4 separate regions of the Homo sapiens genome follow, and all the other regions are linked to region 4. Evidence: promoter capture Hi-C in 16 types of primary human blood cells and fetal thymus (Javierre and others, 2016). All regions are on one chromosome and are shown on one strand. Each heading gives the region's core, a stretch centred on a gene start or on the middle of the fragment in contact. The rest is flanking DNA. Distances are from core to core; before and after follow the strand shown. Region 1 overlaps PLA1A (phospholipase A1 member A). Region 2 overlaps ARHGAP31 (Rho GTPase activating protein 31). Region 3 overlaps ARHGAP31 (Rho GTPase activating protein 31). Region 4 holds the start of POGLUT1 (protein O-glucosyltransferase 1).

Region 1 (3,014 bases), core at 136-2,635, 160 kb before region 4:
CTTTGGGCAGGGGTTCCAGAGGGGCCGCACTTCCCATGGGTTCAGCTCCTGCCAAGCAGCCTTCCCTGTGGACCCAGCTTTGCCAACTCCACTCCTGCTTTGTCCCTCTAGCCTAGGGTTGTATTGGCTCCTGTTGTGATTAATCTCTGCATTGTGTCCCCATCTCTGTTTTCCAGCTCATCCAACACACTTGTAATGAGTTCACTGTGCTAAATTCCTTCTCTTGGACCTCCTCTGTTTTCCTGACCGGACTCTCACTGAGACAGTGACATTATCTGACAATCTGTCTCCCGCTGGCTTGTGAATAACTAACCGGTTGCTTTTTAAAGAAGCATGCACCATGGCTGCTGACTTCCTATCCCCTGCAGGCTGTGGCTCCCTACAGTTGGGGTTCCTTGCCCTCTCACTTCAAGCGTAGTCCCACCAGCCCCCAAGCCCAAGTCTGCCCCAACAAAGGAAGGGAATGACTACCCCCAGTTTCAGGAATCACCCAGCACCAAGCCCTCCTGGCCGCTAGTCTGGCCCTCAGCTCGCACTCCGTTGCTGACTGACCCTGTGCCTCAGATTCCATTCTGGTAACTGACCCAGAACTGCTCTCCTTTCCCAGGAGTGGGTGCTCTCCAGGCTCTGGCTAGCCCTTCCTGGGCTGGTGACTGAGGCCCTCCTCCCTACTGACATCCCTGATACCCGCACTGTCTGGATTCCAGAGTACTGTTTCCTCTCAGGGACCTGATTCCTATGTCCTCTCCATCTGTTGGGACATGCCATCCCTGCTGCCTGCTTGCCCTGCCTACTCTCATCTGAATCTGCTATACTTGGACCCACTACTGAACAGCTCCTCAGCATGTGTCTGTGGCTGGATCTATAGTAGGTGCTGCCCCCAGCCAAGCCGGCTGGGCCCATGCATCAGCAATCACACAGTCCCTGACCTGGGATGTCCATGTGTGTAAAATGAAAAAGTAACCAACTCCTAAGGGGAGGAGTCAACCAGGTGGGACACTTACGTACATGGTGATCTTAGATGAAGAGGTGATGTTACTGCTAAGGAAGGTAACCTCGATGTTGGTGTCCTTGTTTCTCAGTTCCTTCAAGTGAAACTCCACGAGGCTGTGATGCACTAGGAAACCAAAGCACAACAGAGACTGGCCAGAGGGCAGAAGGTGCAATGGGCAAAAACCCCAGAGAGCAGCAGTGTGGTTGGGAATCTTGGCTCTATCTCTTAGTGGCTGTGTGCCCAGGAGCAGATCACCTATAATCTCAGGTCCTCAGTTTCCTCAAGTGCAAATTGAGGATAATAAAAATAGACACTTGGCTGGGCGCAGTGGTTCACGCCTGTAATCCCAGCACTTTGGGAGGCCGAGGCGAGTGGATCACCTGAGGTCAGGAGTTTGAGACCAGTCTGACCAACATGGTGAAACCCCATCTCTACTAAAAATATAAAAATTAGCCAGGTGTGGTGGCGGGTGCCTGTAATCCCAGCTACTCAGGAGGCTGAGACAGGAGAATCGCTTGAACTCAGGAGGCAGAGTTTGCAGTGAGCAGAAATTGCACCACTGCACTCCAGCCTGGGCGGCAGAGCAAGACTCCGTCTAAAAAAAAAAAAAAATAGATACCCTAGGTCTGAAATAAGTGGGTTAATATGTATGAACTTCTCAGGACAGTGCCTGTGCCTAGGAAGCATTCAGTAATGTTAGTTTTTGTTATTTTGTAATACTAATGTTTTACTTCCCCTTGTTTGCTGACATATTCATGGTGGGATGATCTTGAATGAGCCAAAATGCATCTATCATATACGGCTATCTTTTGTTTGTGTCCCCTCCGAGTTCATGTTTAAACTGAATGCTCTGTGCAACAGTACTGAGAGGTGGGGCCTTTGAGGGAAGGGATTAAGTCATGAAGGCTCTACTATCATGAATGAAATAGTGCCTTATAGAAGGGCTCAAGGGAATTGGCAGGGCCCTTATTTGACCTCCTGCGTTCTGCTGTGTGTGAACACGGTATCTGTCCCCTCTGGAGAATGCAACAGCAAAGCACCTTCTTGGGAGCAGAAAGTGCAACCCTTATAGACATGGAGTGCCGGCGCCTTGATCTGGGACTTCCCAGCCTCTAGAGCTGTGGGAAAATAAATTTCTGAGCTTTGTAAGTTACCCAGTCTCAGGTACTGTGTCATAGTAGCACAAGTAGACTAAGACATAAACTAAAGGTTTAACTCATAAGGTCAGGCGTGGTGGCTCACTCCTGTAATCGCAGCACTTTGGGAGGCCAAGGCGGGTGGATCACCTGAGGTCAGGAGTTTGAGACCAGCCTAGCCAATATGGTGAAACCCTGTCTCTACTAAAAATATAAAAATTAGCCAGGCATGGTGGCAGGCACCTGTAACCCCAGCTACTAAGGAGGCTGAGGCAGGAGAAGCATTTGAACCCGGGAGGCAGAGGTTGCAGTGAGCCGAGATGGTGCCGTTGCATTACAGCCTGGGTGACAAGAGTGAAACTCTGTCTCAAAAAAAAAAAAAAAAAAAAAAAAGAAAGAGAGAATTAACTCATTAAATACAGCAACGGCCCTGCTCCCTCTCCACACACCCAGCGTCAGGGAAGCAGGCTGTGTGTGTAGGAGACTGCTCCTCTCCCTGCAGCCGCTGGTTACCTATGTGGCATCCAGACTCTCCCTTGAGCAGCATGGACACTGGAGCTCTCAAAGTGAGTGTCGCCAACATAGACTGGGTGTACAGCCTGGGCCATGGTGATACCCCTGGGACCTGCTGTCCCTCTGGCAAGAGAAGGTAAGAAAGATTACAGGCCAGGCATAGTGGCTCATGCCTGAAATCCTAGTACTTTGGGAGGCCAAGGTGGGCAGATCACTTGAGCCCAGGAGTTCAAGACCAGCCTGGGCCACATGGCAAGACCCAGTCTCTACAAAAAAACAAAAACAAAAAATTAGTTGGGCATGTGGTGTGTACCTGTAGTCCCAGCTATTTGGGAGGCTGAGGTGGGAGGATCACCTGAGCATGGGAGGTT
Region 2 (3,083 bases), core at 1-2,500, 170 kb after region 4:
AGGGCAACACCTGCACATGTAAATCAGGGTGGGAGTGTTTGGTCCTTGCAGGCTTCACGAGATCAATTCCTGACTACCTTGCTGTGAATGGCACAACTCACACAATAATGTAGCTTTACATACAACTTCGGAAGTATATAGGCGGTGAAGACGCTTGCTTCAGAAATGTCCCTGACAGCGGTGGCCTCTACTGTGTTTTGGATGAGGAACTTCTTAATAGCCTTGTCCTTGGGCAGGCATTGGGCGCAGATGGTGCAGCGAACAGGCTGCACGTGGCTGCAGCCCTTTTTGGCACAATCGTCGCCCCTTCTTTTCTTTGTCAGCTTGGAAGCTCGGTATCACTTTTTACCAGGGAGTGGGTAAAATAAACAAAGATTGCTCAGAGGAGCAAGAAAATCCTCAGCCATTAAAGTAAAGCCAACCCAGAGGAAGAAGATAATTTTCCCTATAACTCTCTCTTACTTGTCTCTTGGCTCCTGGCCCCAACCATCTCCAAGCTCTAATAGAAGACCCAGAACACTTGGCATATGAAGGAGAGGTAGGAAACAACCATGGGCACATTATGACCTCGCAGAGCTTCACCCACAACCTCCCAACCACAGACAGCAACATGATGTGGTTTTCGTTATACAGCTGCAAGCAAGGGCCTTCTTATTCAGTGGTCAAGAAAAGAAAAAGAAAACTATACTATTTTCAGCAGCAGCAGTAAGGAAGGGATGATCTCCCTTTATTCCAGACAGGAAGAGAAAGTTAGCTGGTTCCCAGGGGAGAGCTGGGGGTTGGGGGCAGCAGCCACTGTGTTGGAGGGGAAGTGCAAGAGGCTCTTGGCAAGTCTGCCAGGAGCCACTTCATGCCATTCTTGAGTGTTCTTACCTGGCTAAGAGTGTTCATTGCTCCCTTCTTACCAAGTTAGAGAAAAGTGGTCAAAGAAGGGGGAAAATTGGTCCTGGATATCAGGCCCCCCTGTGTAGCCAGTGAGGGGTGATCACAGCAGGGTCTGAAATTGGCATCTATGTAGATACCTGCAGAAATTGCATACACGGTGTGTGTGTGTGTGTGTGTGTGTGTGTGTGTGTGTTTCTAAGGAAAGGGTTTCTGTTTCTCATCAGCTTCCCAAAGATTAAGGTTGACAACTGGCCCTGAGCAATGTCTGCCCTAAGCTGAACACCTATTTGTAAACCACACACCCAGCCTTGTCAGGTTTGTCCAGCTGAAAGTAGCAGGGCTGAGCCTCAGCAAATTACAGAAGCATATGACATTCATTCTGTCTTCAGCCTTTGTCTCTCCAAAGTTCCCACTCAAGCATGTGGCGTCCCCATGTTCAGATGCCCTGAGCATAGCTCATCATCACCCCGCTTTGTCCTCCACTCCAACTCAAGGCTTTCCTTCCCTGTCCAAAGACAGGAGCTCTCTTTGCCTCCCTAAATCTTTGGTCTTCTCCCCTTGTACTCCCAAACCTGAACCTATCTTTCCTCTCAATGCAGGTCTACTGCACCACCTTTGACCTTCAAAGTTCAGTAACCATGATGTCAGTCCAGGGAGCCCTTCTCCAGCCCCCTGGCTCCCAGTTACCACACTGACTTGTCACCCTCAGCATTCTGGGCTGATCTTCCAAGGTGGTGGGCAGAGGGCCAGTTCCCAGCTCAGCTTTTCCTCCCAGAAGCAGAGTCCAGGCCTTGTCTATGAATCAATACATGTTTGGGAGAGTCCACAAAGAAGCAACATTACTTTAGAGAAAACCATTAGCACTGACTTTGTTCATTGATGCTACACTATCACAAATACACAGAAAAAAACCATCCAACTAGTTTTAGCTGAGGGAAAAAATAAATTCTAATTACTCTTATTTCCATAAGCAGTATATTATGCATGTCTAATTTCCGTGTAGCACAATAACAGTGTGTGGATCATTAAGTGGGTCAGTTGCGTTTCCTTTCAAAGCTGAACTCTCATCAGGTATGTTCAGTCTTCAAAGTTTGCTGATCCTGTAGCAGGGCTGTCTGCTTTCAATTTAGGGGGAAAATATCATTAGAAGAGAATGTTGGCTTAGACACAGAAGCCAGGGAGGGCAGAGGAACCTAACAGGCCAGGGAGGGCCCTCCGATCCTTCATGATTAGCTGTACAACCTCAGGCAGGCCAATTTACCCCTCTGGGCTTCTTTTCCCCCTCCCCAGGGTGGGGAACCCGGGGTACTGGTTTGCCATTCTTTTAAGCAGTAGTCTCTGTTTTTTTTTGTCTAAATGAAACATATGCAGAAGCCCAAAATATAAAGCAGGTGAAAGAACAGCTGCCTAAAGCTGCCTTTGACATATCTTCATAGAACCCTGGGGTTCTGGCTCATCCTATAATCTATTAGTTTGTAAGAACGAACAGGGCTGGCAAGCACCCCTATGCAACTCTCACAGATTTGAGGGAGGGGCCAGAATAACACCCGCATGGTGAAAGGTGGCATCCCAGGAGCATTCCTAGTGTACCTGGAGGTTAACTTGAAGGCCCCTGCAAAAATAGGTGAAGAGGAACCTTTCATTGTAAACTTCTGACGATAGTGGTTAAGAGGCATACTTGGAGTTTTCTCACACTCAAAAAAACTCAAACCAAGTGATTTTTATCTCAAATCTACCTCTCCAGATGGTTGGTGAGGATTCAATGAAGTGTTAAGTTATGCATCAATTTCAAAAGAGTCAGTTTTGAAACCTGTGGTTCTCCAAGCTCTAAAATCCTAAGCTATTTGTCCTAATGACACAGCAGACTGAACTCTAGAATACCACAGGAATATCACACCACTGCAAATTACTAGGTGGTGCTGAGTCTCCCAAAACACAGAAGTGAAACAAAAGCATTGCACTGTTTTTGAAATGCATATTCGATATGGACTAATCAAATAGGTTTTGAGATTATTTTCCTGGAGGCAGAATTATTCCGCACGGTTACACAGCCCTTAGTTTTCCCCTTTGTTGTATCTATCTATGTATAAACACATGGCCTATATAGTAGGCTATTTTCCTCTCGCTGAAGCTTCTGAAGACAAGGCCTTTTTGTCAAGGGTAAGTGCAAAACCAGTCAACCTTACAAAAGGAGTCAT
Region 3 (3,074 bases), core at 236-2,735, 140 kb after region 4:
AAAACACAGGTTTCTGAACACCAAGGTCTTGAAGAGGGAAGAACACAAATGCACCCAAAACAATAGCTAGTTAACTGCCAAGTGCTAAATTTGGAAGATCAGATCTCTGAAAAACTTCTCCCCATCAGTTATACTGGACCAGCAGGGTCCCCTGAAACATATCTTGGACGTTTCCACTTCTAGGCCTCTGTCTCATTTCCCAGAGGGGAATGCTATTCTCATACTTTCTTAAGTTTTAGATCTTACACAATGTCCAAAGCCCACCCAGACTTGTTCTCCTTCACAAAACTCTTCCTGACCACCGAGCACCCAGTGTTTCCTTTTTCTGGATCTGTACAGTAGCACGACACATTCTCAGCTGACTGTACCAGACCCTAATTTTAACAAGATCCACAGGTGATTGAAAATGCACACAAAAATCTGAGCATCGCTGTAGGCCACTTGTCTTCAAATGTGCCTACACACTCTAAAACCCTGGGAATCTTTTTATTATTATTATTACTTTTATTTTTGAGACAGAGTTTTGCTCTTGTTGCCCAGGCTGGAGTGCAATGACATGATCTCAGCTCACTGCAACCTCCGCCTCCTGGGTTCAAGTGATTCTCCTGCCTCAGCCTCCTGAGTAGCTGGGATTACAGGCGCCCACCACCACGCCCGGCTAATGTTTTGCATTTTTAGTAGAGACCGGGTTTCACCATGTTGGCCAGGGTGGTGTTGAACTCCTGACCCTAGGTGATCCACCCGCCTCAGCCTCCCAAAATGCTGGGATTACAGGCGTGAGCCACCGTGCCCAGCCCTGGGAAGCTTTTAAAAATACCAATGCCTAGTTCCACCTTCAGAGATTCTGATTTAATCAGTATGGGTGACAGCTAGGCATCAAAAAAAATTTTTAAAAACTTCCCAGGTGATTCTAATATTAAGCGAAGTTTGAAAATTACTGGTAGCTCCTCTCTCCTTTCCCTGAGTTTCTTCTCGCCACTGTTTTGCCCTAGCTGTCAAACAGCCTGCCTTCAGGCTAAGTCATTTCCGTCCCCCCCTTCCCCCCCAACCCCCGCCATCCCCACCAGGTGGATTCTTGGGTATACAGAACTAGGAGAAGCTAGCTTCCCCTCCACCCTTTCTCCCCTGGTTCAAAGGCTCTGGGACTGGCCCATAGAGGCCTTCCCAGAATACAGGACTGCAACAGTGTGAGTGGGAAGAGGCAGACCCAGGGCAGACTCCCGACCCAGCAGTGTGGCCTTAGGTAAGCCTCCTTGGGCAAGCCACTAAAATATGTTGCCTGTAAAGGGGGAACAACATCTCTGAAATCAGCCTGTAGAGTCACAGCGTCTTGGGAAGATCAACAGAGATGATATGTGAATGTGTTTCTAAAATATTAATGTGCATGACAGCTGCGATGGTTTCCTATCCTAGGACAACCATTTCAAATTTAAAAATCTTCCTTTCCCCTACTTCCCACACAACTAAGTAAGAATTTTAAGCAAAATTTTATCTTAGCATCCAAAAAAGATGAATATGCATGTGTAGTATCTGTGTTGATATAGGTAGGTATGATTCAACAGTTACAGCTTGCTGCATCACTAGTTACTAGAAGGCAGTGATTCTGTGACTTGAAGATATTTTAATTAGCACCAAACACACTGAGAGTGTTCAATAAACATTAACCAATGAGGCCTAATTTAAGACGGCATCATATAAGTCCACACTATGCCACTATTGACATGAGGAGTACTGCTTATTGCTTACCCAAATGACACATTTTCACCTTTTAAGTAAAGTATAGCACCTTCATTTAGCCATTCCGCTGATCTGCAAACTGAGAGACCAAGAGACCTTGGTTTATTCAAAATTGGTTCTCTGTTTTACTAAAAGGAGTCGTCCATTAAAAGTTATGCTCAATACTAAATACCAGTTAGAATAGATACAACTGTGCTGCCTTCACCTACACTAAGGGCTAGGGGTTGAGAGTAGAGAAAGACTCCTCTCCCCACTCTTTGTTTTTCCACGTCTATCCTTAAACATTCTTTGAGGATCTGATTCTCGAAAGGGTTTTTGTTGTTTATGTTTGTTTGTTTGTTTCTTTTAATAGCTACAAATCTCCTTGGGAGGGACAAGGAACCTTGATGTGAACCACATGTGGAATACAGCAATGGTACCCAAGCTTTTTGGATTTCACAGATCAAGTTTAAAAGATTTTGGGGGATCTACCTAGGACTGCTAATTTTTTATTTTTCTGAGAGAGGACATCAACCAACAATAACTATCGTATTTCATAACAGAATGGACAATTCAAAATAACTAAAACTATGAAGCATATAGTCTTAGAATAAAGAATTGTCCTGTTCAAGAAAGGACAAGTGTAACCTTAAAATTGTTATAATACATCCGGATAAATTTATTACATAGATGGCCCTACATTTCCTATGGGTCTGCGGTTGTGAGCCACTGTTCTAGACGGCTAGGAGGGTTTGAAGTGAGTTGAGAACCTTTACTGTCCTGAAGATGGGGTAGGGGCTAGACAAGGGTATATTCTAAAAAGAGGAAAGCGCTACTGTAATAATCTTGCCTAGGATTACATACAGATGGGCATAACAGAGTCCCAGGACTTCACCCCTTCGGTGTAGAGCAGGGATGGCAGGGATGGCAAGAGCCCCACTTAGGATACCTGGAAAAAGAAATCTCCGCAGCAAAGGGTCCTTGTGCTGACTTTTCTTTTTCATTTACGAGTGTACCCTCTGTCTCCTTGGGGGCCCACCTTCTTATTCCCAGCAGGAAAGGGGAAGGGGGAGGACAGGAAATGTGGAAACCGCGTTAACAGCCTGATTGTGAACCAGCACTGCGACTGAGATGCGAGGAGGGAAGGACAAAAGTCCCTCCCTCGCTTTTCAAAAAGTAAGCCACAAAAGTTATAGAAACATTTTCTATTAAACATCATCTCCATTTTGCAGAGAACCTAAGGCTCCGAGGACTTGCCCAGGGCCATACAGCCGGTGAGCCCCAGGGCTCAGCCACAGCCCAGGTAACGAGGACAGGGCTTGCTCCAGCCACCATTGGCTGCCTCTTCGGCCTCCCTC
Region 4 (3,290 bases), core at 389-2,888:
CTGATGTGCATTCTCTCTCTTTTTTGAGACGGAGTCTCACTCTGTCACCCAGGCTGGGGTGCAGTGGCATGATCTGGATTCAATGCAACCTCTGCTTCCCGGGTTCAAGCGATTCTCCTGCCTCAGCCTCCCGAGTAGCTGGGATTACAGGCACGTGCCATCATGCCCAGCTAATTTTTGTATTTTTAGTAGAGACAGGGTTTCACCATGTTGGCCAGGCTGGTCTCGAAATTCTGACCTCAGGTGATCCACCTGCCTTGGCCTCTCAAAGTGCTGGGATTACAGGCATGAACCACCATGCCCAGCCTGATGTGCATTTTCTAAAGATAACCATCAGGAAATTTAGGACTAGATTCAGCGATAGATGGGTTTATTTCCTCAACAATATTTATCGAGCACGCACTGACAGCTAGCACCAGGGAGACAACAGCAAATAAGACACAGACCCTGACCTCAGGAAGCTTGCAGCCCAGTGGGAAAAACAGATGCACATGCACTGAATCCCGCAGTGAGTCAGTGGTTAGGTTGACACCACCTGAGCCTTTCCCATGCGAGAGCATTTTTATTCCCCAGAAATAGAAAAACATCCTTGCCTTTCTGACCACTGCAACCAAAATCTCTCAAGGATGTTAGAATACTTCCTGTGACAGCAACTAAACTCTCAAAGACACATCAAAGAAAAGAACTCACCCATGGTAGCAGCTGCAGTTTTGACTTGAACATGGTTCGTAATTCTCCAAAGACCTGTTAATTTGGTCAATAAATACTTTCCATTTTGAACCTTTAAAAAGTGAAGTAAATGAGAGTTAAAAAAATTTTCCTGAATGTTATTTGCTGACACCACACCAACAGAAGAAACAGAAGACCAAAACTTTCAGAAATCCCCTTCCCATCCCACTGATGGAAACGAAACGCTAGGGAGGAATTTTTGTGTGTGCAACTCCCACGCTCACGTCAAGTCTGTTCCTCTATCCGGCTGTCAGGTGTCCAAGAAACTGGAAAATTCCCAAGCTTAATGCTCAACCCTCAGAATGCTATGGATAGTGACGCGGACTCTCACTTTCTACTAATCAAATTGAACTCCACAAAGAGGATCAGTTAAAAGCTACAGACATTAAACCCCTCTTCTCTTCTGGCAACGCATATACACACACGCTCGCGCGCACGACATTTGCCCCCATCCCCGACCCCTCAGTGTTTCAGGCAGGTCCAGAGTAGCCAAGCACGGGCCACGCCTCCTGCGGGTGAACGGGGAATTCCCTCTCCTCCCTGTCATTCTGAATTCCGGGGAATGGGTTACTCTCCAGGGTCCAGAGCAGGAGCAGAGACCCCGGCACCTCACTCTCCGCCGCAAGGCGCCCCGGTGCCTTCTGCCCAGCTCCGAGCTACAGCGGCCACGGCATCTTCCCGGGAGCCGGCCGCGCGGGGGAGCGCCTCGGGACTCCGGCCAGACCCCGAGCCCAAGGGGCAGGCTCGGCACTGCCCGGAGCCCACCTGACTCCTTCTGGCGGCCCTGCGCTGAGGGCAGGAGGAACAACAGCAGCCAGAGCCGAAGCGGCGAGCTAGCCCACCACTCCATCGCCGGCAGACCTACTGCAGATTCCCCGCTGCGGCGCTGGCGGAAGCGCGGCCCCGCACAAAGATGGCCCGGGAGCCGCAGCACGTGGGCGGCGGGTCGCCCCGCACAAAGATGGCCACCGTGGCCCCACCACCCTTCCTCCAGTCCCCAGCCTTGAGGCGGAGTTTCCCTGAGAAGGCTGCGCCGGGAAGGTGGGGAGGATAAACGAATGGACCAGTTGCCTATCCTCCCTCCCTGGCACCCCTGGGAAAATAGGTCTGCAGCCAGAAAACTGAAGGTCAGAGAGGGTATGTTTCACGGTTAGTGGCACAACCAAGACTTGGCATAGAGCCTAGGCCAAACAGTTCTTCTCTTGACGTCAAATTGCCTCTTATCAAATAGCATAAATTTGTTGAGCATGTGTGTGTGTGTGTGTGTGTGTGTGTGTGTGTGTGTACAGCACGGTTAGACCCCAAAGGTTGCAATTAGCATAGCAGGGATCCCTTTGTAATAGGAATTTATAACAGTTGGGGTGACTTAGACGTAGGAAAAAAGATCAATGGTGTTAAATAAAGTTTATGGGAGGTCGTTGTTTTGGACAGAACTCTGGCACTAGGCCTCAAGAGAGCAGACAAAACCAGAATGGAGGCAACTTGTCCTAGGTGCTGCGTAATTAAACTCAGCTTTAAAAGGGGTCAGTTTTCCAACAAATAGGAGAAGGGGCCCATATACCTGAGCTGGCATGATAAAGAAGTCCCCTCTGATGTAACTCTTTGAGGAAAGTAACTTCAAAATGACCAATCTGCTTTTTGTTCCTTATTTCTGCTTTCTTCAGCCCTTTTCTGCCTATAAGCCCAACCCCTTCTGCTCAGCTCATTAGAACACTTTTCTGTTTTATAGATGAGATGCTGCCTGATTCATGAATCACTAATAAAAGCCAATTCGATTTTTTTTTTTTTTTGAGACAGAGGACAGTCTAACTCTGTTGCCCAGCCTGGAGTGCAGTGGCACAATCTTGGCTCACTATGACGTCTGCCTCCCGGGTTCAAGCAATTCTTCTGTCTCAGTCTCCCGAGTAGCTGGGATTACAGGAGTGTGTCACCATGCCCGGGTAATTTTTGTATTTTTAGTAAAGACAGGGTTTCACCGTGTTGGCCAGGTTGGTCTCAAACTCCTGACCTCAGGTGATCTGCCCACCTCGGCCTCCCAAAGTGCTGGGATTACAGGCGTGAGCCACCATGCCTGGCCAAGAACTTTAAACTAAATTTGATGAAATTTTGTTTCTTGACAGTGGGCAACATGATACTGGACAATATAGGTATATAGTATAGTACAGGTATATATCTTTATACAGGTATATATAGGTCAGTGTAGATATATTTAGTAATCATAGAACTACAAATATTTATCTATTTTCTTTTTTTTTTTTTTTTTTGAGATGGAGTTTCGCTCTTGTTGCCCAGGCTGGAGTGCAATGGTTCAATATCGGCTCACCACAACCTCCGCCTCCTGGGTTCAAGCAATTCTCCTGCCTCAGCCTCCTGAGTAGGTGGATTACAGGCTTGCGCCACCACACCCGGCTAATTTTGTATTTTTAGTAGAGATGGGGTTTCTCCATATTTGTCAGGCTGGTCTCGAACTCCCGACCTCCGGTGATCCACCAGCCTCGACCTCCCAAAGTGCTGGGATTGCAGGCGTGAGCCACTGCGCCCAGCAATATTTATCTATTTTC

What was found. The method cuts DNA at HindIII sites, captures the fragments that hold promoters and counts their contacts. A CHiCAGO score of 5 or more calls a contact.
Region 1: a contact is called between a fragment that was not itself captured here and the fragment with the promoter of POGLUT1 in region 4, in 1 of 17 cell types (monocytes). The highest score is 6.3, in monocytes.
Region 2: a fragment that was not itself captured here is called in contact with the fragment with the promoter of POGLUT1 in region 4 in 9 of 17 cell types (total CD8 T cells, fetal thymus, megakaryocytes and 6 more); the score reaches 9.2 in total CD8 T cells.
Region 3: a fragment that was not itself captured here is called in contact with the fragment with the promoter of POGLUT1 in region 4 in 4 of 17 cell types (megakaryocytes, total B cells, naive CD8 T cells and 1 more); the score reaches 5.4 in megakaryocytes.

Annotation. Positions count from the first base shown.
Region 1 is chr3:119,623,227-119,626,240 of GRCh38, reverse strand. It overlaps PLA1A (phospholipase A1 member A), which reads right to left. Exons shown (of 11, transcript NM_015900.4): 9 at 1,009-1,117. Among named protein-coding and RNA genes, the nearest start is that of PLA1A, 27 kb to the right of the region's middle. RefSeq lists an enhancer at 1,917-2,116. The HindIII fragment of the contact is 5,078 bases long and covers 1-3,014 here.
Region 2 is chr3:119,295,905-119,298,987 of GRCh38, reverse strand. The region is part of intron 1 of ARHGAP31 (Rho GTPase activating protein 31); the gene reads right to left. It also overlaps the pseudogene RPS26P21. Among named protein-coding and RNA genes, the nearest start is that of ARHGAP31, 3.1 kb to the right of the region's middle. RefSeq lists an enhancer at 1,204-1,273. The HindIII fragment of the contact is 3,536 bases long and covers 1-3,018 here.
Region 3 is chr3:119,323,631-119,326,704 of GRCh38, reverse strand. The region is part of intron 1 of ARHGAP31 (Rho GTPase activating protein 31); the gene reads right to left. Among named protein-coding and RNA genes, the nearest start is that of ARHGAP31-AS1, 2.4 kb to the right of the region's middle. RefSeq lists an enhancer at 2,560-3,074. The HindIII fragment of the contact is 1,357 bases long and covers 807-2,163 here.
Region 4 is chr3:119,467,311-119,470,600 of GRCh38, reverse strand. POGLUT1 (protein O-glucosyltransferase 1) reads right to left here and starts at 1,638. Exons shown (of 11, transcript NM_152305.3): 1 at 1,495-1,638; 2 at 691-781. The coding sequence starts at 1,579. RefSeq lists a silencer at 1,362-1,561 and enhancers at 1,612-1,781, 1,474-1,974. The HindIII fragment of the contact is 3,798 bases long and covers 1,014-3,290 here.